Linked DNA regions of Homo sapiens: region 2 is linked to region 1. The links are contacts of gene promoters, found by promoter capture Hi-C in human tissues and cell types (Jung and others, 2019). All regions are on one chromosome and are shown on one strand. The core of a region is centred on a gene start or on the middle of the fragment in contact, and the rest is flanking DNA. Distances in the headings are between cores, read along the strand shown.

Evidence for each region. The method cuts DNA at HindIII sites, captures the fragments that hold promoters and counts their contacts. A contact is called where the count stands out against the background at its distance.
Region 2: a fragment that was not itself captured here is called in contact with the fragment with the promoter of MMP16 in region 1 in 1 of the 25 tissues and cell types used here (dorsolateral prefrontal cortex).

What each region holds. Positions count from the first base shown.
Region 1 is chr8:88,325,477-88,330,648 of GRCh38, forward strand. It overlaps MMP16 (matrix metallopeptidase 16), which reads right to left and starts at 2,007. Exons shown (of 10, transcript NM_005941.5): 1 at 1,599-2,007. The coding sequence starts at 1,730. LOC105375630 (a long non-coding RNA gene) reads left to right here and starts at 2,368. Exons shown (of 8, transcript XR_001745653.3): 1 at 2,368-2,422; 2 at 3,453-3,621. The HindIII fragment of the contact is 8,411 bases long and covers 1-5,172 here.
Region 2 is chr8:87,991,233-87,996,484 of GRCh38, forward strand. No RefSeq gene overlaps it. Among named protein-coding and RNA genes, the nearest start is that of DCAF4L2, 120 kb to the left of the region's middle. The HindIII fragment of the contact is 4,371 bases long and covers 1-3,951 here.

The DNA of each region.
Region 1 (5,172 bases), core at 757-3,256:
TGAAGCAATAGGCCCTTCTGTTTATAACATTATAAATAACAGCTTGCCACTTTAATTCCTCCAGCCTATGAACTAATCCTTCATTTCAACATTAAATTATCTCTTGATTTAAATGTTAGGTACAAAAATCCATCTGTGGCACGTAATTCCAAAAGTTCAAATTTGCAATAAAAAAAGTCTGGACTTTCAAGCCCCTTTCTCTTTTTATCTAGAAAAATAAAGTTGTATTTTTCAAAGGGTTAAACCTTTTTAGTTTTCAAATTGGGTTTTTTTTGTGTAATTTATTCATACTTAATATCTGTGAAGGTCTTTAACTCTTGATAATAGCTCTTACTTTTTCAAATACTTTTTTTGTACTAACCATGACTTATTACATGAAGTCCTAAGAACAGTTTCTATAAACACAGTTATATTCAGAATATGCCTTTACACATGGCATTTATTATGCACACTCTGTGTATCAATTGGTTACATGAAGCATGTTCAAATACTGTGCAACAGGTCTTGCTATTGTGTAAACACACACTCCCAGCAAAATGACAATAAGCTTCATAATATCAACAATATAAGAAAAAAAATCACATTATTCCTTAAAAAATTATTCATAATTCGTTTGAGAGTTCAGAGGACATCAGATCTAATCAAAAGAAGTAAATGTTACTAAGACCCTCTTACTGGCTTTGTATCCCACCGTATATGTGATAAAGTTGTGTTACAGCCCAGGTGTATACACGCTTTCATTGATTTATTGCACATTACTGGCTTCAGTGCTGACTTGATGACAGGAAGAGTACTTTGGCAGAGGTCTGACAAGTCCCTATCCTTAAGTTCCCTTTTGCTTTGTGCCGTCTGTTCCCAAAGCTATCAAAGTAAAGCAAATGACAGTCTAAAACCTCCCCGTTTTGCCACGAGAGTGTGAAATCAAATTAAAAACACACCTCAAAACTATTACATTGGGCCACGTTTATTTTCAATTGGCGGGGGAGGGGGAAAGAAGACACTTAAAAAGAGATGGATTTCATGTCCTCTGTGTAGCCAGATCTAGTTACAGTGTATTAAGTTATGTCTAAATGAAAAAAAAAAAGATTCTCAAGTGTTTTATCACAAAGTAATGTTATTAAACACATCTAGTGTTCCCACGCTCTCCTCTAGATTCTTTGATTTTTAACCTCCTTTGTTAGGCACCAAACACTGGGAGAAAGATTTCAGGAACAATACCTAGGCAGCACATGATGCCAGGGAATTAATTCTGTCTTCCCCGAGCTGTTTATCCATCATAAACTCAAGCTGCCTTATTTAGCTACACGGTTGCTATATGTAGGACTTCTCTTCCCTGGGTGAAAAGCATGGACCGGCTACAATTGTGTCTTTGAGCGCGCAGCATCGTGCTTTGTGCTGCCGGGGATAACGGATTCTGGGTCTCACACGCATCCGTCACCTAAAACACCCTTAAACTGAACCAGGGTCTCCACAGCTGGAAGGGAAACAACGTGCTGGGACCCAGGCTGCTCTGAGCTACAAGGATCCCAGGAGTGAAGGAAATGTTTCAGGGAGCAGCCCAGGCAGCGGGGGGAGGAAGAAAGCCCTCGCACTCTTACCTCCACATTGAAATACTGCTCCGTTCCGCAGACTGTAGCACATAAAATCCAAAGCAAGGTTTGCAAGAAAAACACCCCCGAATGATGCACGAAATCCAACCGTCTTCCAGTGCTGAATGTGAGTAAGATCATAGTGAACTGTGCTTCAATGGATGGACGAGCTCCCCTTCGTTTTCTCCCTCTCTCCCTCTCCCTCCCTCCCTCGTTTCCTTTCAAAAAAAAGTCCTCCGGGTGGGTAAGGAGCCTGCAGGTTCACCCACAGCCGGGCAAGGGGAGGAGACAGGGGCCCCGCGCTCGGCAGCCCCCGAGAGGCAGCGGCGAAGACAGGGTCAGCAGTAGTTCCTGTTCACCATCCTCCGGGGTCAGTCACCGGGAACGTGGCGCCTAAGTTCACCGGCGGTTCCGGCTCAAAGAGCCTAGTCGCAGCCGCAGCAGCAGCAGCCGCCGCCGCCGCCGCCGCCTCCAGCCCGTGCGTCCTCCTCCTGCACTGCCTACTCCTCCTCCTCCTCCGCCGCCGCCGCCGCCCCCAGCTCCTGCGGGAAGGGCCTCCGCCGCTCCTCACTCTCTCGCCTCTGCTTCTCCTTCCCTCCTCTCCTCGCTCCCCTCCAGAATGTTCATCCGTAATCTACATAACTCCTCCTTCCCGGGGTCTGCCTGGCTCTCGGGGCCCTTGGCGCGCGCGCGCGCGCGCACACACACACACACACACACACACACAGAGACACACCGCGACACACACACACACACGCGCGCATACACACAGCCCGACACACACGCACGCGCGCTTCTTAAAGGAGACGGCTCATAAAGGATTCCCCACTACGGTAGGGCGCACCGGAGGTATCCAGCCCGCGACAAGGGCCCTGGTTTGAGCACAGCTCTTCGACAGTATCTCCCATCCCGCATCCCCGAGGCAGGCACCCAGGAACTTGGGCGGCTCCATTCTTTCTTCCCGCCCACCCTGCCGCCTCGCATCTAAAAACGAGTGCGCCCCTCTCCAGCCATGAGCTGGGTGGGGCTCAGGCTGCGGACCCTAGTGGGGCCTGGGGAGCGGCCCAACCCTGGTCCTGGAGAGCGGTCGGCATTCCTGAGGAAGCGGCCCTGGAAGAATAGGGGCGCTGGGAATCAGAGGAGCGCCTGGTCACTGAGCGCCCCTGGGTGGCTCGGGTCGGTGGCCGGGGCTGACCAAGTTTGGGAAGACTGAGATAGCAAATCCCGAACGTCCAAAACTTTGTTGGGGTCCCGAGCCTGTGGCCTGGTGTCTTCCTGAATCCCCTCTACCATAGCTACATTCCGCCTTCCAGGCTTGAGGAGTAGGCACAGGGTTTTGGTGGCGGACTAGACAAATACAGAAGCGGGATGAAAACGCTCACTTTCCAAGTGAACGGTGGACACACGCGCACAGTGGGACCCGGGAGAGATGGTCCTGGGTGTTAACAAAACATCCGATGAGAGGGATGGGGGCGCTGGAAAGAAACCGGCTGCGGGAGCCAGGGGAAGGGTTGGGGAAAGAAGGAGAAGAAGCAGCCTGAGGAAAGGCGAGTAAAGCAGCTGGCAAGGGCGGGAGGAAGAGGCTGCTCGCAGACCGAGCGGGGGAGAGGCTGGCGGGAGCTAGGAGAGCTGCAGGCAAGAGGGGGAGGCGGCTGGCAAGAAGCACGGGCGAACGCGGGCAGGGAACTTCAGAGGAGGCTGCCAGAAAGGACTGGAGCTGTAGCAGTGCGAGGCAGTGGACAGGGGGGGCAGCAACCACCAGCCCTTGGCAAGTGATGGTTTGGCTGAAAGAGGAAGGGGGAAGGGAGCGAGGCAAGCATCTGTTTGGGGGCTAATGCCAGTAAATGTGCTTCTCCTTGGCAGCCAGCAGAGGGGAAGAGGAGCCCACGGGAAAGAAAAGCAGGCGAGGTTAAGAATAAAGAGTGTTCCAGGTATGACAGCTACCTCGGTGAGGTGGAAGAGAGAATTGACAAGGCAAATTTCATGGGTGAGTTGGAAAGGCAAGAAGCAGGACTACAAGAGGTCCTATGTGGTAAGCAGATGGAAAATTCTGAGAATGGTTTGCCAAAAATTGTATTAGACTGCAATAACTTTTATCCAATAAAAGAAAAAAAGGCTGAGGAATGGGACTTTGCAGCTGTTGCTGTAAAAATGTAAGAAATGCCCACCCAACTTGACCCAAGACCCAAGAAGTTCTCAGGGAGACCTTCCTGACAGTCTGCCTTGTGCCCAGCATGTGCTGCCCACAAAATAATTTTGAAGATGTAATAAAAAGCAATGTCTTATATTGTATAGTACATTAGAATATTCAGAATGTTTCCAGACATAGTATCTCATTTAATTCTCACACCATCTCTGAGGATTTTGTTTTTATTTTACAGATGAAGTAAATGATAGCAATAAAATATAACGTTCCAGCAAACCATACAAGTGGCAGAGTTCAGACTTTTGTTTCCTGACTCCCAGTTCAGTGATTTTCCTGCTATACTCCAGTGACTTTCCAAATGGAAATTCATTCCTGCTCTTAGCAATTTTATAATCCATAGGTTGAGATGATTTTTTATAAAAGAAACAGCTAGAAGGCAACATGAAAGTAATGTCATTATATAGAATTTATATGGTGTTCTGTGCCAATATAAGGTAACGAAATGTAGTGAAGTATTTGTCAATAAATCAAGAATGATTTTTATGTGTGCATTATATCTAGTAAAGTGCAAAATTAGAGAGGGAAAATGATACAAAAAAAATGTTTAAACTCAGTTCCTAGTCTTTGAGATACTATTGAAGAGGAGGAGGTAAAAATTATTTACCAAAGACGTTCATGAGAAAACAGTGCTAAATGGTGATGTCCTTGCTAACTGAGCCAAATATTAGAAGACTGTATCAAGGACATGGAGTGCAAGTTGAGCACTGCAAAACTATCAGTAAGGAGGGATTTTTCACCATAAGCAACTTGGTTTTCTTTCTTTCTTTTTTTAAAGCATGTGCTCAGACAAGAAAAATAGTGTATTTGTGGAGGACAGGTATGGAGAGGGACTTGTAATGAAATATTGAGTTAACATTTGCTCAAATTGGTAAACAAGGGTTGCTAAACCATTCTAAATATGAATAGGTATCCAGGGAATATTACCTTCAAAATTATGCATGGGATTGACCATGGGAAGGGACTCTATGCAAAGAGGTAACAATTAAAATAAGGTTTTAGGCCAGCCATGGTGGCTTGCGCCTATAATTCCATCACTTTGGGAGGCTGAGGTGGGCAGATCACCTGAGGTCAGGAGTTTGAGACTAGCCTGACCAAGATGATGAAATCGCATCTCTACTAAAAATACAAACATTAGCTGGACGTGGTGGCGGGTGCCTGTAATCCCAGCTACTCAGGAGGCTGAGGCAGGAGAATCACTTGAACTCAGGAGGCACAGGTTGCAGTGAGTCCAGATTGCGCCATTGCACTCTAGCCTGGGTGACAAGAATGAAACTTCATCTCAAAATAAATAAATAAATAAGGTTTTAATCCAGCTATGAAACTATAAGGCCTGGACTAGTGAGATGTCCTAGGAAAGCTATGCTTTCAAAGAGCAAT
Region 2 (5,252 bases), core at 516-3,015, 330 kb before region 1:
ACTATTTCAGCTATTTTGAGAACAGGGAAAACGATATACTCCAGTACAAATGTGTATATTTGTTTGATGTCTGATATCCTTTGCCATTACTAGTTTTCTCTTTCTTCCTAGGCCTACTTCTGTGACTCTAGGTACCAGAGAAATAAATGTGCTTTCTTCAAAGGCAAATCATGCAAGTCCTTTTTAAACTGTGACCCTTTCGTAGGGGTCAGTCTGTGTTTTTCCACATTCAAATAACCTAACAGTTTTCTAATTAGCACTTTCCACTCAAAGCATAGCACACTCTTCAAACTGGCAAATATTTTTGGCTTCTTTGTCAAACATAAAACTGCAAATATTTGGAGCTCTTTTTTTTCTTTAATTTGAGCAATAAGACTATTTGTCCAGAAAATGCACATTGTTTTACAGGGGCTTAGACACCCACCTGTGCACAAAAGTATGGATAAGTGTCAGATACAAAGAAACAATATGATTAAACTCATGCCTGCACTCGTTAGTTCATAACTGCACACACTGTCTCATCTCTTTTACAAAAGTAAATCAGGAATTGGTAACAAACCATTAGATAATCAGAGAAATGTAACTCTCTTGAACACGCTTGTTATCTATATAATACGGGCCAACTAAGTACTTTATAATCCCAGAAATCAATGCATACTGGATTTCAGTTTGACCCTAAATAAATTTCCATGATCTCCAGGAAGAGCACAAAGGTCTTCCGTTTATGAAGCCCCTGCTCCACGTCAGTCGCTGCTCTCAATTATTTTGCCCTCATTTCATGGCATTCTAACCACAGCCATAGGACATACATACTGTTATCCTTTTATTCTTAATGAGGAAGAGGAAAACCACATAGGTGCACACATCTGGATGTGACCCTAGTTTGTCTAATTCCAAAGCCTACTCTTGACTAGATCACCTGGTTTGGAGGGTGGGGGAAACTGCTCTAATTTATCTGATGTGGTCACTCTTCTAAATATACTGACTTAATCAATGGAGGTTAATTTCAGCTTATGTTCAGAAATGACAGCTACTGAGACTTGCTGTTAATATTTCCATTTAAACATCAAGCATACTTTGATCTAAAATAGTCTAAAATATCTGTATATGAGTAAAATATACCGGACACTAAGTGTATAATATCTCCCTGGGCAGACATGACAAGAAACAACAAATCTAAAATTGTTGACCAGTAACTTAATTCCAAGTCATTAATTCAAAGGAAGATTTATTCAAAAAAAGAAAAAAGTTTAAGAAGACATAAACTATAAGTTTTTTCCCTCTTCTGCCTCCTCCCTCTCCCCCCTCCTCCTCCTCTTCCTACTCCTTCTCCTCTTCTTCTTTTGTAATGTCAAGGGTGGGAAAAGAGACAAACGATTTAGCAACAAAAAATTGATCAGGAAAGTACATCTACACTGACTTACTGAAGATGTAAAGACTTTAAAAATATAAGGTACTGTTTAAAATATGTATCTGGGGCCGGGTGTGGTGGCTCACGCCTGTAATCCCAGCACTTTGGGAGGCCGAGGTGGGTGGATCACCTGAGGCCAGGAGTTTGAGACCAGCCTAGCCATCATGGCAAAACCCCACCTTTATTAAAAATACAAAAATTAGCTGGGCATTGTGGTGGCTACCTGTAATCTCAGCTACTAGGGAAGCTGAGGCAGTAGAATCACTTGAACCCAGGAGGTGGAGGTTGCAGTGAGCCAAGATCGCTCCACCACACTCCAGCCTGGGAGACAGAGCAAGACTCCGACTCAGATAATAATAATAATAATAATACATAATAAAATAAAATAAAATATGTACGTGGGTAAGGAAGGTAACTAAAGATTACCTTGAAACAATAAAAGCAAAAGCAATATTACAATGCTAAAGAGGTGGGTTTTTTTGTTCTTTTAACATTTTCATTTTAAGTGTTGTCAAAAATTTTAAAAAGCATTGTTTAAAAAGCAGTTATTGATATCTAGCCTTCCATATTCCACATACCATGTGCAAAATTTAGTACCATTTTGCATGTTCTTACAATGCGCATTTATTCCATGTAGTCTTGAATATGTAACATACAAAACACAGGAGAATTGGAGGCAATATCTTTTTTATACCATATTCTATCTTGGAGGATGCACTAATCAAAAAAAACTGCAAGAGATTTCTATAGTTACATCACTTGCTCACTTACCAACATGATCCACCTCTCAGACTTAGAGGACAAAACATACATATTAAAATAAATACATTCTCTATTATTTCAAAAACTTTTATATCTAATACCTAAATCAAACTATTTTTTAAAAGCTATTTTAAGTGAGGCTTTTCCCTTGTTCCTTCAAATAAATAAACTATTAAAATATTTTGCTTATAATCAGATGCACACAATTCCAAGAAGCTCACTAAAATATCCCAAAAGTAAGGATCCACCTGAATTCGTTATAAAAAGATGTTAATTTTCCTAAGGGAATCTAAAACACAGTCTTCCCTAAATTCTTCCTCAGCTTTCTTTTCCATCAGAATTAGGTCTAAAAACATAGAATTTTGCAGCTGGCCCTCGTTGTTGCACTCAAATGTGGCAAATTTGTACATATTCCTTCACTGTAGCTCATGGAATTGTATCTTCCATGCAGCCTAATCTTTTCCTCTTACTTTTCTCTACTATTTTGGTAATCATTGATCCTCTAACACATCTCAGTAACCACACGGATTGAAAAATTTTCCCTGAGCTCATACCAAGTTTTCTGAAACCTCAAGAAAACCCATTCTTTAATATTTCACAAAAGTCAGTCCTGGGCACCTAGTCAGAGCCTAAAGCCTCTATAATAGCTTCTAGAAATCATTTTTAGGGTTTTCTCCAACTCTAGGATAGCAATCTCTCCATTTAATCTGATATCTGAAGAGAGGTCTTCAACCTTTACTTTTTCTGAGATGTTCTGAAATTAAAAAGCCTATTAGTTGAGATAAACTCTCTGGGGGAGATTATGTCTTTCTAAGGCCTGTTTAAAATTGTCTACTGAGCCTTATACTCAAAGGTTCACTGCCTGACTAAGGGTTCAGGCACAGGTATTGAGAAGTCTCATGATGGCCCCCTTCTCTAATTTCCTGTTTGTGTGTGTGTGTTTGTGTGTGTGTGTTTTAATCTATTCACCTTGTCTCAGCTTACTTAAGAATTTGTCCTTCTACATCATAAAAATTACTTGTATCTTCAATGATTCTGCTTAAAATCACCTCCATAAAAAAATCGAAGTAAGTAGAGTTTGATGACAGTGACCCACAAATACCTCTGCCATACCTCCTCTCATCATTTAGACAGTTCAAGAACTCAAGTAAAAAAGCTTCAATCTGTGGTTTCTTATTTAATATCCCCTAATTAGTTGGTATTACTACTGTCTGTAACTGATTGTATCAGTTAATTCCACCACAATACATGTAAAACTATGGTCATATTTTGAAGCCTTATTTGGGCCGGCAAACTTTGCCCAGCTGATCACTCTTAATGGGATTTTGCATATTTTTTAAATTAAAAATATACTGGACAAAAGAGTATGACTAAAACAATGAAAGTCTGGTCGGACATGTTGGCTCACGCCTGTAATCCCAGCACTTTGGGAAGTGGAGGCGGGTGGATCACCTGAGGTCAGGAGTTCAAGACCAACCTGGCCAACATGACGAAACTCCGTCTCTACTAAAAATACAAAATTAGCCGGGCATGGTGGTGGGCGCCTGTAGTCCCAGCTACCCAGGAGGCTGAGGCAGGAGGATCACTGGAACCCAGGAGGCGGAGGTTGCAGTGAGCCGAGATCACTCCACTGCACTCCAGCCTGGGCAACAGAGCCAGACTCCATCTCAAAGCAAAAACAAACAAGCAAACAAAAAACAATGAGGCCGGGGGCAGTGGCTCACGCCTGTAATCCCAGCAGTTTGGGAGGCCAAGGTGGGCAGATCAGGAGATCAGGAGTTCGAGACCAGCCTGACCAACATGGTGAAACCCCGTCACTACTAAAAATACAAAAATTAACTGAGCATGGTGGCACGTGTCTATAATCCCAGCTACTTGGGAGGCTGAGGCAGGAGAATCACTTGAACCCAGGAGGCGGAGGTTGCAGTGAGCCAAGATCATGAGATTGCACTCCAGCCTGGGTGACAGAGCGAGACTCCATCTCAAAAAACAAACAAACAACAACAATTAAAAAAAAAAAAAAAACGAAAGTCCATTGACAATTATGTAGTACTTCAGGAAAATAAAAATTTAAAAAAAAGTCCAGTGGATGTAGATAAATTTAATTAAATTAACTAATCATCAATCTGGATTTTTTTCTTTCATAGCTTACCTGTTCCCTGAAAATAAACACATATTCTTGTTTAATCTCATGGATCATAGTATAGTATCATTCTTTTCTCAGAAGTGGAAAAATCTGTCCATAAGTATGATTGTGACTTTACACGAAGATCATCTAATTAAGCCTTTGTTGATGCTAACTGGCTCATACCAGGATAGAAGTCACAGTAGCGTGGGAGAGGAATGAATTACCCAGCCAAAAAAAGCAGAGTGACCAGGACAAGTTTTTGAGACAAGTAAGCTTAAGATCACAATGAATGCATGGTAGGAGCAGTATATCTTTATAATTTAAATGTTGTGTTGACTGTCTTCATTTTTCTGTCAGCCAGAGCGGACATTCTAGTATATAAGAAAACCTTGTAGAAAGTTGAGATTCTACGTGACATTTAGAGTAGAATAACAATGTTTTTCCAGATAATAATGCTCAATGTCTTGTTTCCTCTGATGCCCCTTTAGACCAGTGTATGGGCACCATACTAGGGACCTGTAGGTATCCTATAATGGTGGTCTTGTCCTATATTTACATTGTTTCATTGTCAATATTGTTAAACTTGATGTGCTATGAAGATATTTTGTGACTTTAACATCAGATTAACTGATATATCTTAATACCATTACAGTTTTAGAGATCAAAAGATAGAAAAAATTCATATAATCAATAGCACATGATTTTATAGTGAACAAGAAATACAGTGTATAGAGCTACCTGAAGTTCTGTTTAGCTCACATTATGAATAGGAGGAGTGTAGTCAGGAGCCATAGCAGACTAGGTAGAAGCACAAAATCAACTCCTTTCTATTCTTTCCACTAGCAGTTCAGAAAGCCATCTTTCTCTGGGTGATGGTCAGTATGTGCCTGCTGCTGGACCACACTGACCTTCATTCACATACTTCTCCCTGATGGTCAGATGCCCAACAGA